Linked DNA regions of Homo sapiens: region 2 is linked to region 1. The links are contacts of gene promoters, found by promoter capture Hi-C in blood cells and fetal thymus (Javierre and others, 2016). All regions are on one chromosome and are shown on one strand. Each heading gives the region's core, a stretch centred on a gene start or on the middle of the fragment in contact. The rest is flanking DNA. Distances are from core to core; before and after follow the strand shown.

The links. The method cuts DNA at HindIII sites, captures the fragments that hold promoters and counts their contacts. A CHiCAGO score of 5 or more calls a contact.
Region 2: a contact is called between a fragment that was not itself captured here and the fragment with the promoter of PRAG1 in region 1, in 8 of 17 cell types (naive B cells, M0 macrophages, M1 macrophages and 5 more). The highest score is 6.6, in naive B cells.

Annotation. Positions count from the first base shown.
Region 1 is chr8:8,384,656-8,389,003 of GRCh38, forward strand. PRAG1 (PEAK1 related, kinase-activating pseudokinase 1) reads right to left here and starts at 1,784. Exons shown (of 6, transcript NM_001080826.3): 1 at 1,666-1,784. RefSeq lists a silencer at 1,487-2,166. The HindIII fragment of the contact is 9,968 bases long and covers 1-4,348 here.
Region 2 is chr8:8,974,261-8,980,402 of GRCh38, forward strand. LOC124901866 reads left to right here. Exons shown (of 4, transcript XM_047422504.1): 3 at 4,737-4,945. Among named protein-coding and RNA genes, the nearest start is that of ERI1, 26 kb to the right of the region's middle. RefSeq lists an enhancer at 3,639-3,933. The HindIII fragment of the contact is 228 bases long and covers 2,316-2,543 here.

The sequences.
Region 1 (4,348 bases), core at 534-3,033:
TGCCTGGAATTATCTCCTATTTGTTTTAAGTAAAAGATGGTGAGAAACACAAGTGGCACCCACAAAGCCTTGCCTCGCCTTGCCTGGTGCAGCAGTGCCAGCTCTCCACAGCATGGGGAAGGCACTTCGCAGCCCACATTCCTTACTTCTGAGGGGAGGCAGCCCCCAGAATTATGCAAATCCTCCCCATTTCAGTAGGAGGCTGCAGTGTCAGATTAGAAAAAAGAGCTCAGCATTCTTTCTGATCCAAGTCATGAAAAAAATGTCTTTGCCTCTGCAAACTTCTGCACTAGATTTGTGGCTACAGTTTGCAAGACTGAAGCTGTCAGATACACTCCCACCCCATTTCAAAAAAGAATCTGAAGAATCAAGGTGGCCAGATCTTTAAGATTAAATATTTTGGCCCAAAATACCCCCTCAGACTTACATCAGAAGTTGCTTATGCCTTATTCTGAAGTGACAGAATTGCAGAAAACATTCACCTAAAATTTTTTTCTGTATGTTACAGTTAAATTAATGCAACGCCAGTAAAAGGAAAGAAATATGTGTGGAAAGTGTCTGAACTTCAGCACACTCCACTGGCCAGGGCTGACCAGGCAGAAAGGAGAAAGTGACAACTTTACCACCCACTAGCCCCCTGCCTCCCTACTCACGCAGAGGGTAAATTACGATATTCACCCAACTTTTCCTTTTCTTTTTTCTTCCTCCAGTGCTGGAGGAAAGAAAATCTCAGAGGGAGGAATGTGGTTTTGCACCCACTACAGTCGAAACCAACCAGACCTCAGGAGAGAAAAATAACTGCGGAATTCCCTAGGGCTTTCTGTCAAATTTTCTTCTCAGAAAGGGAAGGGGAGAGGAGTTGTTAAGAATAGTTCAGGCCAGTGATCAGGAAAGCCTTCTGAGCCTGACTCCGCACTGAATGCATCGCCAAAACTCCTCGCCCCTAGACCATTGGGCTTTGCTATCGGCTCTGCAAAACCATGTGCAGGGAGAGCTTACCTGAGAGAAACGCACACACCGTGAGCTGGCGCTCTCCGCTGCGAATGCCCGGCCGCCTCCATGCCCAGCAGAGGATTCTATGTTCTAAGTGTGTGTGTCCCCGGATACCAGCAAAGGTTAATAACGTGCTCACAGCATGCGTTTCAGAGGGCTCAGCCAGGGCTCGGGGAAAAGGGCATCATCTCGTTGCCTCTGGAGCCCCGCTGCTGCATACCCTGCACCCCCAAACCATCCCCCCGGGTCCTGGTCCCAGCAGCCAGGCGGCCTTCCGTCTCTCCCCCTTGACAATACTCTAGCGGTGGAAAGCAGTCCTCAAAGCGCTTCAGCCTCCGGCCGCAGACAGAGCAGCAAGACCAGAGAAACCATCCTAACAGTCGGTCCTCCCTCCTGGAACTCGTAGGAAAGTTTCCCCGTTTTAAAGAGCGCGATTCTCGAATGAATCAAAAACACCCTCCAGCTCCTCGGTCCTCCCGGCCGGGCGCCTCCCTGCACCTCGGGCACCACCCGGGGCTCACGCGGCCCCGGCACTGCCCACTTCCCGAGCGGTCGCCTGTCACCCCGGGGGTAGCCCGCTCGGCGATCGCAGCGCCCCTCCAAAGCTCCCCTCTGCGACCACGCTCGCCAGACAAAAAGAGGCCGAATTTGGAGAGCGCGTCGCGGGCTCACCTCTGGGCTGCGCTCCCCCGGCCCCTCCGTCGGTCTCCGAGCCGCCAGCCGCCCGGCCGGAGCATTGTTCGCAGAAGGTCTGCGCGCGGTGCGTGCCCGGCCGCGGGCGGGTGGCTTCTGCCTGGGCCCGGCGGCCGGGTGGCAGCTGTGAGCGCGGCTCCGCCCCCTCCGCCTCCGGTGACGCCGCCCGCCCCAGCTCACGCCGCACCTCCGCAGTCCCTGCCGCCGCCCGGCCCCGCCTGGCCCGCGCGCCCCGCCGCCCGGCTTGCGCCTGCCGCTCCCACCCGGCGGTCTCCTACCCCCAGGGCCCCGACTCCTCCAAAGTCTCCAGGCCCCGGGACTCCCTCTCTTGCCCACCCTCCCGCCCCGGACCGGCAGGCTCCGCCCCCAGCCCCAGACTTGGCGCGGGCTGACCCCCGAGCCCAGCACCCGTTTGCACCCCCTCCTCGGTGGGGACCCTGCACAGCTCTGGAGGGGCGAGCTCTGGCGTTGCAATCCTCCTTTTGCCATCATGCGTGTATAGGTGCCCGGCATCACTTCATCCAGCCGGCCCTGCGGGACCCTGGGAAGAGAGGGAGAAGGAAGGGGAAACGAGGAAGTGTGGGGTCGGGAGTGGAATACAGGTCAGGGTCCGAGGCGGGCTCTGAAAGCCACGTGAGCACAGCGAGCCTCAGCTCTCCCTACCTCTGGGAAGAGGGTGGCGCCGGAGGGAGCAGGGCTGGAAGTCCCGGTGGCGGATTCCAGGTTCCGCTCAGTCCCTGGACTGCAGGATTCTGGCAAATTGCTTAACCTCTTTGAACTTTAGTTTTCTGGATGTAGAATGCAAGCGTTGCACTGCAGGGACCTGGCCTTCTACCATGCTGGGACATCCAAGTCTTCCGCAGGCCAGTAATACACCTGTGTTTACACCGTTTCCAGTGAGTCATTCACTGAGATAGAACGAGTTCGAGATAGTCCTCGGGCTAAAAAAATCTTTTCACTGGGAGTATAATAGCTTAAGACCCAGTCAGTCCTGTAGCTTGACCTGGGTGTTTACTCGGGGAGCCAGGGCTATGGTCACCTCCCAGGGCCATGCCGGGTGGGAAGAATTCAGTGAAATGGAATAGGAAGAGGACCCCCCTCCCCCACAAAACAATACCTGCGGCTTCTCTCGCCCTCTATCCCCTCCCCAGGAAGGCAGTTTATTTTGACTCCAGTGAAGGTCCTCTGCCAGTCAGCCTGCGAGCCCCCACCCACTGAGAGGAGGAAGATGGGCCCCCACCCCCACCCCCAGATCCCTGGCTCTCCTCTTTGCTGCTGTGGGTGTGGACAGAGAGGGAAGATGTGTATTTGAGGTTTGGCTTCTGTGTGAGGAAAGGGAAAAAAGGATCCAGGGAATTCTTCCTCATGTTCCAGTGACACCCATGCCTCCTAAGAGGACAGAATCTGGGGGAAGCTGTAGAGGGATGGGAGTGCAATGGACATTCCTTAAGGACCTACCCAGCGCTAAGCAATCCTATGAGGAGAGCATCATTATCCCCATTCTACAGATAAGAAAACTGAGGCTCGGGGGCCTCACAATTTGCTGGGGTTCCTCAGCTGAAAAGTGGTAGTACTAAGATTGGAACCAAAGGCTGTCTGGCTTCGCTGGTAGGCAAGTCTACTCTGCCACTCTGCCCTTGCCAAGTGCAGGTAGTCCAGCCCTATTTTTCTCTCTCCCCTAAGTGGAGAGAAATCATTTGAACAAATACTGGCCGTGCGCGGTGGCTCACACCTGTAATCCCAGCATTTTGGGAGGCCGAGGCTGGCAGATCACCTGAGGCCAGGAGTTCAAGAACAGCCTGGGCAATGTGGTATAACCTCATCTCTACTAAAAATACAAAAATTAGTCGAGTGTGGTGGTGGGCGCCTGTAATCCCGGCTACTCAGGAGGCTGAGGCAGGAGACTCACATGAGCCAGGGAGGTGGAGGTTGCAGTGAGCTGAGATCGCACCACTACACTCCAGCTTGGGTATCAGAGCAAGACCCTGTCTCAAAAAAAAAAAAAAAAAAAAAAGGAAGGGAAACTTTGGTTACACTTCATGAGCATCCAACAGAGCTGAAAGATCCAGACCCTACCAAGACTCAAGAGGGGAAGATGTTGATTAAACAGGTAGGTACAAAGTGGTCTGCAATGGAGAAATACAAAAGTGACTTCAGAAAGTGTGCAATTCATTTACACTGGGAGAGGGCAAACTAAGATGTTTGAGAAGTTCCTGGTTCTCAGGATTCAGGCTAAATGTTTCACTTCTTTCCTCTGTAAGAGAGACATTGACCTCACAGAATAAAGGCTGTGCTGAACACATAAAAGAAGCACTTACTTTTGCACTTTATTTTCTTCTCTTTACCTAACTTATTCTTTTTTTTTTTTTTCCTGGGATGGAGTTTCATCTTTCAATCAGGCTGGAGTGAAGTGGCAAGATCTTGTCTCACTGCAGCCTCCACTCCCCGGGTTCAAGCCATTCTCCTGCCTCAGCCTCCTGAGTAGCTGGGATTGCAGGCGGCCACCACCATGCCCTGCTAATTTTTCTATTTTTAGTAGAGACAGCATTTCACCATGTTGGGCCAGGCTGGTCTTGAACTCCTGACCTCAAGTTATCTGCCTGCCTCGGCCTCCCAAAGTGCTAGGATTACAGGTGTGAGCCACCGCGCCCGGCCCCTAATT
Region 2 (6,142 bases), core at 1,180-3,679, 590 kb after region 1:
GAACGTGGTGTGTCCCCTAGGGGTCAGTGCTAGGACATATTGTCTCCAGGGTCTCGTGCCTTTCTGTTTGGTTGAGGGCAACATTTCTCAGAAGTATGTGGATACCTGGGATTTTAAGAGGGTATCATGGCAACTCTTTCACTCTCTAGTTTTAGAGGTGATCTTGACAAATGTCTCTCACCTGAGAGCCTTTGAGTATGTACCAACTAACCATATGGAGCAATTGGGGGATCAGATAAAAAGGCTGATGACACGGTCACTCTATTGAGTTAGCACCAGCTGAGCACAACAGCCCACCATGTTGTCTCTGACTACCATGGAGCATGGCAGGCTGCTTGTTGTCACCCCACATCCATTTTCCCCTTCTTCATTAGAAAATGGTGAGCCAGCTAAAAATTGTATTTCCCAGTCTTCTTCTTCTCCTCCTCCTCCTTCTTTTCCTCCCTCCTCCCTCCTCCCTTTCCCCTTCACCTCCCCTCCCCCTTCACCCTCCCCAACCCCTTCTCTTCCCCCTTGTTCTCCTTCTCCCCCTCCTTCTCCTTCTCCTTCTTCTGACAGGGTCTTGCTTTTTCACCCAAGCTAGAGTGCAGTGGTGCAATCATGGCTCACTGAAGCCTCAACCTACTGGCTTAAACGATCCCTCCACATCAGCCTCCCAAGCAGCTGGGACTACAGGCACACACCACCACGCCTGGCTGGTTGTTAGATTTTTTTGCAGATATGTGGTTTTTGCCCGAGCTGGTCTTGAACTCCTGTTCTCAAGTGATCGTCCCACCTCAGGCATCCAAAGTGCTGTGAATATAGGTATGAGCCATCACACCCTGCCTACCCCAGCCTTTTTTACAGCTAGGTGTGGCCATCCAGCTAAGTTTTCATCAGTGAATTGTGAGAGGAAATAATGCACGAAATTTTGATTTCAGCCGGGCTCAGTGGCTCACGCCTATGATCCCAACACTTTGGGAGGCTGAAGCTGGCAGGTGGATCACTTGAGCTCAAGACTTCAAGATCAGTCTGTCCAACATGGTGAAACCCCATCTCTACTACAAATACAAAAATTAGCCAGGCGTGGTGGCACACGCCTGTAATCCCAGCTACTGGGGAGGCTGAGGCAGGAGATTCACTTGAACCCGGGAGGTGGAGGTGGCAGTGAGCCGAGATCACTCTACTGCACTCCAGCCTGGGCAACAAAGTGAGACTCCATCTCAAAAAAAAAAAAAATTCTTTTTTGGTCTTACTTCCTTAAAACACTCCCCAAAACTTGGCCTTTACTTCCCCCCAAATTGTTACAGATTTTCATTTTTTCCCTTTCTTGAATCAGAAAATAGCTATGTTTGCTGCTTGACTTTGATTATGTAGATTAATTCATAGCCCTAGGTCAGTTTTTTTGTTTTGTTTTTTTGTTATTTTTTTTTTTTTTTAGATGGAGTCTCGCTCTTTCACCCAGGCTGGAGTGCAGTGATTTGATCTCAGCTCACCGCAACCTCCACCTCCTGGGTTCAAGAGATTCTCCTGCCTCAGCTTCCCAAGTAGGTGGGATTATAGGCTCGCACCACCACGGCCAGCTAATTTTTGTATTTTTAGTAGAGACAGGGTTTTGCCACATTGGCCAGGATGGCCTCAAACTCCCGACCTCAAGTGATCTGCCTGCCTCAGCCTTCCAAAGTGCTGGGATTACAGGCATGAGCCACCGTGCCCAGCCCAGGAGCTGTTAATCAGGGTTTTATGAATACTCAAGGAATTTGGGGATATAAACCATGTGGGTTAATGAAGTTAAATCAGGGAAAAAAAGTCTTCATTTCAATTTAACTCTAACTGAAATTGTGTTTTTCAATTATGAATACAGGAAAGTAACCACAGTATTAAGAGTACAGGTAACTTTGTGACCAATAGAAAGGTATTTTTATTTCACATTTCAGCTGAAGATATCTCAAAATATTATTTGTGCTCTTCACCAGTTTGAAATTGTGATACGAGACAATTTGACCCTACTAGATCTTTCTATTTAATGTATTAATAAAGAAGCAAATATATTAGTAATTCACACATTTGCTTTATAAGCATTGTGATGAATATATTTCAATATAATTGCTATCTTTTATAATCCTATACATTTTCTTTTATATCTTTGAAAAAATTATTCTGAGGCTAGGCATGGTGGCTCTCACCTGTAATCCAAGCACTATGGGAGGCCGACATGGGAGGATGACTTGAGGCCAGGAGTTTGAGACCAGCCTGGTCAACATAGCAAGACCTTATCTGTATTAAATAATAATAATAATGATAAAAAGAAAAAAATTATTCTGAGATAGTCCATAAGCTTCACCAGACTGTCAAAGGGGACCTTGTCACAAAAAACTTAAGAAGCAACATGGTTTCTTTTTTCTAGTCATTCTGTCTCATGGGATGGCAGAACAACTGGCTCTCAGAATACATGCGGAACAGATCTCACCCTCAATGAAACCACTCACCTACAGACGTTAAATAAGAGAGAAATAAACCTTATGATCTTTAAGCCATGCATTTTATGGTATTTTTGTTATAGAAGCTTAAAAAATACTCCAACCATACATATAAAGTTATTTTATTCTCACTTTCTTGTTTTAAAATTCATATCAACATCATTCGTTAAAGGTAAGAAGCATACAGATGTCAAAATCCAACAACTTGCTGAGGATTATTAAAATGATAATAATTATGCAAATTTATTTCAAGGAGATATTTGCAGTTTGTATGTTGTATTCATCTCAACAAAAGTGTTATTTAGCACAACAAAATACTTCTTGTACTTCAAAATATATTAAGAGAGAAAATATGGTGCCTATTAAATTTAATTTGACTTCTTATTTATCAAAAGTAAACATTAGCACCTGAAATACGTTGTTTGCACAGAAATACCTGTATTTAGAAGCTTGAAATATTTCCTCTGAATTGATAACTTAGAAACAAAACATGGAAATTATAGTAAGTGAATTTCCTATTTAATGTGCTAAAGGCAATCTGTTTATACAGTAGTATGCAATTTTAAATTTTAAACCAGTTTTTAATATATGTTTGATCCTAAGGCTAAATATCATATATATTCTTCTTGAATTAATTTGTTTATAAAGCATGTTTTTGCTACTTAATTAATTAATTAATTATTCTGGATGGACTGTCACTGTTAGCTGGAGTGCAGTGGCGCCATCTCGGCTCACCGCAACTTCCACCTCCCGGGTTCAAGTGATCATGCCTCAGCCTCCTGAGTAGCTGGGATTACAGGCATGTGCCACCATGCTTGGCTAATTTTTGTATTTTTAGTAGAGATGGGGTTTTGCCATGTTGGCCAGGCTGGTATTGAACTCCCGACCTCAAATGATCCACCTGCCTCAGCCTCCCAAAGTGCTGGGATTACAGGCATAAGCCACTGTGCCCAACCTGATTTAAATGAATAGTATGTATCAATTGTTAAGTGGGAAAAAAACTAAATGTTTCTATATATTTTAAATATTACTACACATTATATAAAAGTGAACTCATATGCTAATTGAAAATACACTTTATACTTGAAATTACTTAATATTGTATGCCCTGCAAAGTTGATAGAATTTTTTTTAGTTGTCTTTTTGCATCCCTTGGCTATGCTATAATGCGGCTTTGAGGATCAAATAAGGAGCTTGAGAGCATTGAAAGTACCACCAAGTTGAGAGGGGGAAGACCTCATATGCAGGAGAGGATTAACTTTGCCCATACAGGGGTCTGGCCTTTGCCCTCAGCTCCTGGAAGATAATCTCTAAACCACTGGAATATCCTGCTTGATAAGAATGTTTACCTGAGGACTTTGGAACAAGCTCCATAACCTATGCTAACAATGTAATCGATAATGCAGGCTTTGGGCCACACAGCTCCAGCTCAGCCTCCGGAAGGGCTGGAAACTGACCATGTCGATGTGACAGAACCCCAGTAAAAACTGTGGACATTGAGGCTCAGGTGAGCTTCTCTGGGTGGCAATTCATGCATATCCTCACACATCACTGCTGAGTTAGTTCTCCACTGGGAAAGAACAACTGGAAGCTTTGCACGTGGAGCTCTCCTGGACTCTTCCCCATATGCCTCTTCCCTCAGTTTATTTATTTATTTAGAGACAGAGTTTCACTCTTGTCGCCCAGGCTGGAGTGCAGTGGCGCAATCTCAGCTCACTGTAACCTCTGCCTCCCAGGTTCAAGCAATTCTCCTGCCTCAGCCTCCCAAGTAGCTAGAATTACAAGCATGTGCCACCACCAGCACACCTGGCTAATTTTTTTGTGTTTTTGTAGAGATGAAGTTTCACCATTTTGGCCAGGCTGGTCTCGAACTCCTGACCTCAGGTGATCTGCCTGCCTTGGCCTCCCAAAGTGCTGGGATTACAGGTGTGAGCCACCACGCCCCGCCCCCTCAGCTGATTTAAATTTGCATTCTTTCACTGTGATAAGCCACAACTGTGAGTATAACAGCTTTCAGTGAGTTCTGTGAGTCCTTCCAACAGATTGTCAAATCTGTGGGTGGTCTTGAGGATCCCTGAACTTGCAGTTAGTATCTGAAGTGAAAGTGGCCTTGGGGCCTCCTGAACTTCACGCCTGGCTTCTAGTCCTGACTGCCCCTAACTCTAGTTATCAACAAATCTCCATTTGCCTCCAAGCCACAGTGTCTGCTGGTTCTCTGCCAAACTCCCACCCTTCTCTGCCTTCCTTTGTGTCATTGCCTATGTTCCCTAACTCCAGGGGAAGATGAGCAGGTGCGAGACAGGGAGAAGCCATCCTACTTCTGGCTCCAGCGGCAGCGGTACCAGTGACTGTATACAACAGGGGGCCCGAGAAGCATCTGAGGCTCCAGCGGAGACACAGGATTGGCTTCCGCTCCCCAGCAGTGGGGACGTCTCCAGACATTCAGCAGCTCCAGCCCGGGGACTGCTGCAGCTTCTACCCTCTGGGTAACACCCCTCTTCTCTCTTTTGCTCTTCTAGCATACCCCACACCTTTGTCAACATCCCCTGAATTAATTCTCTCTCTGCGTTCAGTTTTCCTGAAAGGGGAAATCCCCCTTTTCTGTATAAGGGGAATAATAATAATTGTATCTGTTCTCTGTATCACTCAGAGCTGTTGTGAGCATCCACTGCTAATGGTTGATTGGTTGCTTTAAGGTTAATAAAGAATCACCTAATTTCACACTATTATGATCATGCAAATAGGGGCGTTTGCATCACAAAACAAGTATCGAGTAGGGAGGAGATTCTCTGGAACCTAGAACAAAGACAGGAAATATATTTTAAAATATTCTTACTGTATTATGATGCATTTAAGCCTTGTAGTCAAATCCCAGCTTTACCATTTATTGTCTGTGTGGCCTTAGGCAAGTTGCTGAAGTTCTCTGTGTTTTATTTCCTCATCTGTGAAATGAAGATAACAATGGACCTACCTCACTGGGTTTCTGTGGGGATTAAATACAATAACTCATACATGACCAAAAGGTTGTATAAGCAATATTCATGGGCCATGATAAGAAACCACCTTTATTTTGTTTCTCATTGTTTATTTAAAATTTCTTCAGCAGGAGAAACTCTTTTCCTGCCCCTAAATGTGAAATCAGGTGGTTCTCTAATGCTTCTGACCATCCTTAGGTAATAAAAAGTTCTACAACCACATTAAGTTGCAAAACACACTCTCATTTCTAGATTTAGAATGTCACATCCCATGTAATAATAAAAGCTTCCAGTTTTAGGGAAAGTTCCCCCTAGCTGGGGTCTTTTGCTACGGAGCCAGGTTTAGGGGGTATGATTCTCTTCTAGACGGTCACCTTACCCCTGCAGTCCCAATTTGATAACCATAGTTTCTCATCAATTGAAGTGGGTTAGGTTGGGTTAGGACAGAAAAGGTTAGGGTGTGGCCAGAAACCTTCACCTTAAGTGACACTCTTGTAGGCTATGTTCTCACTTTCTGGGTTTGGCAAATGGTTAAAGGTGACCTTTTCTTCCTGGTGCTTCAGATTTCACCGTGACTTTCAACTGTGCTTCCCATGTTGAGGGCAATGTATTTGCTCCTGGTTGCTTTTCTCTCAGCCGTGTGTGTGTGTGTGTGGGTGTGTGTGTGTGTGTGTGTGTGTGTGCGTGTGCGTGCGTGCATGCATGTGT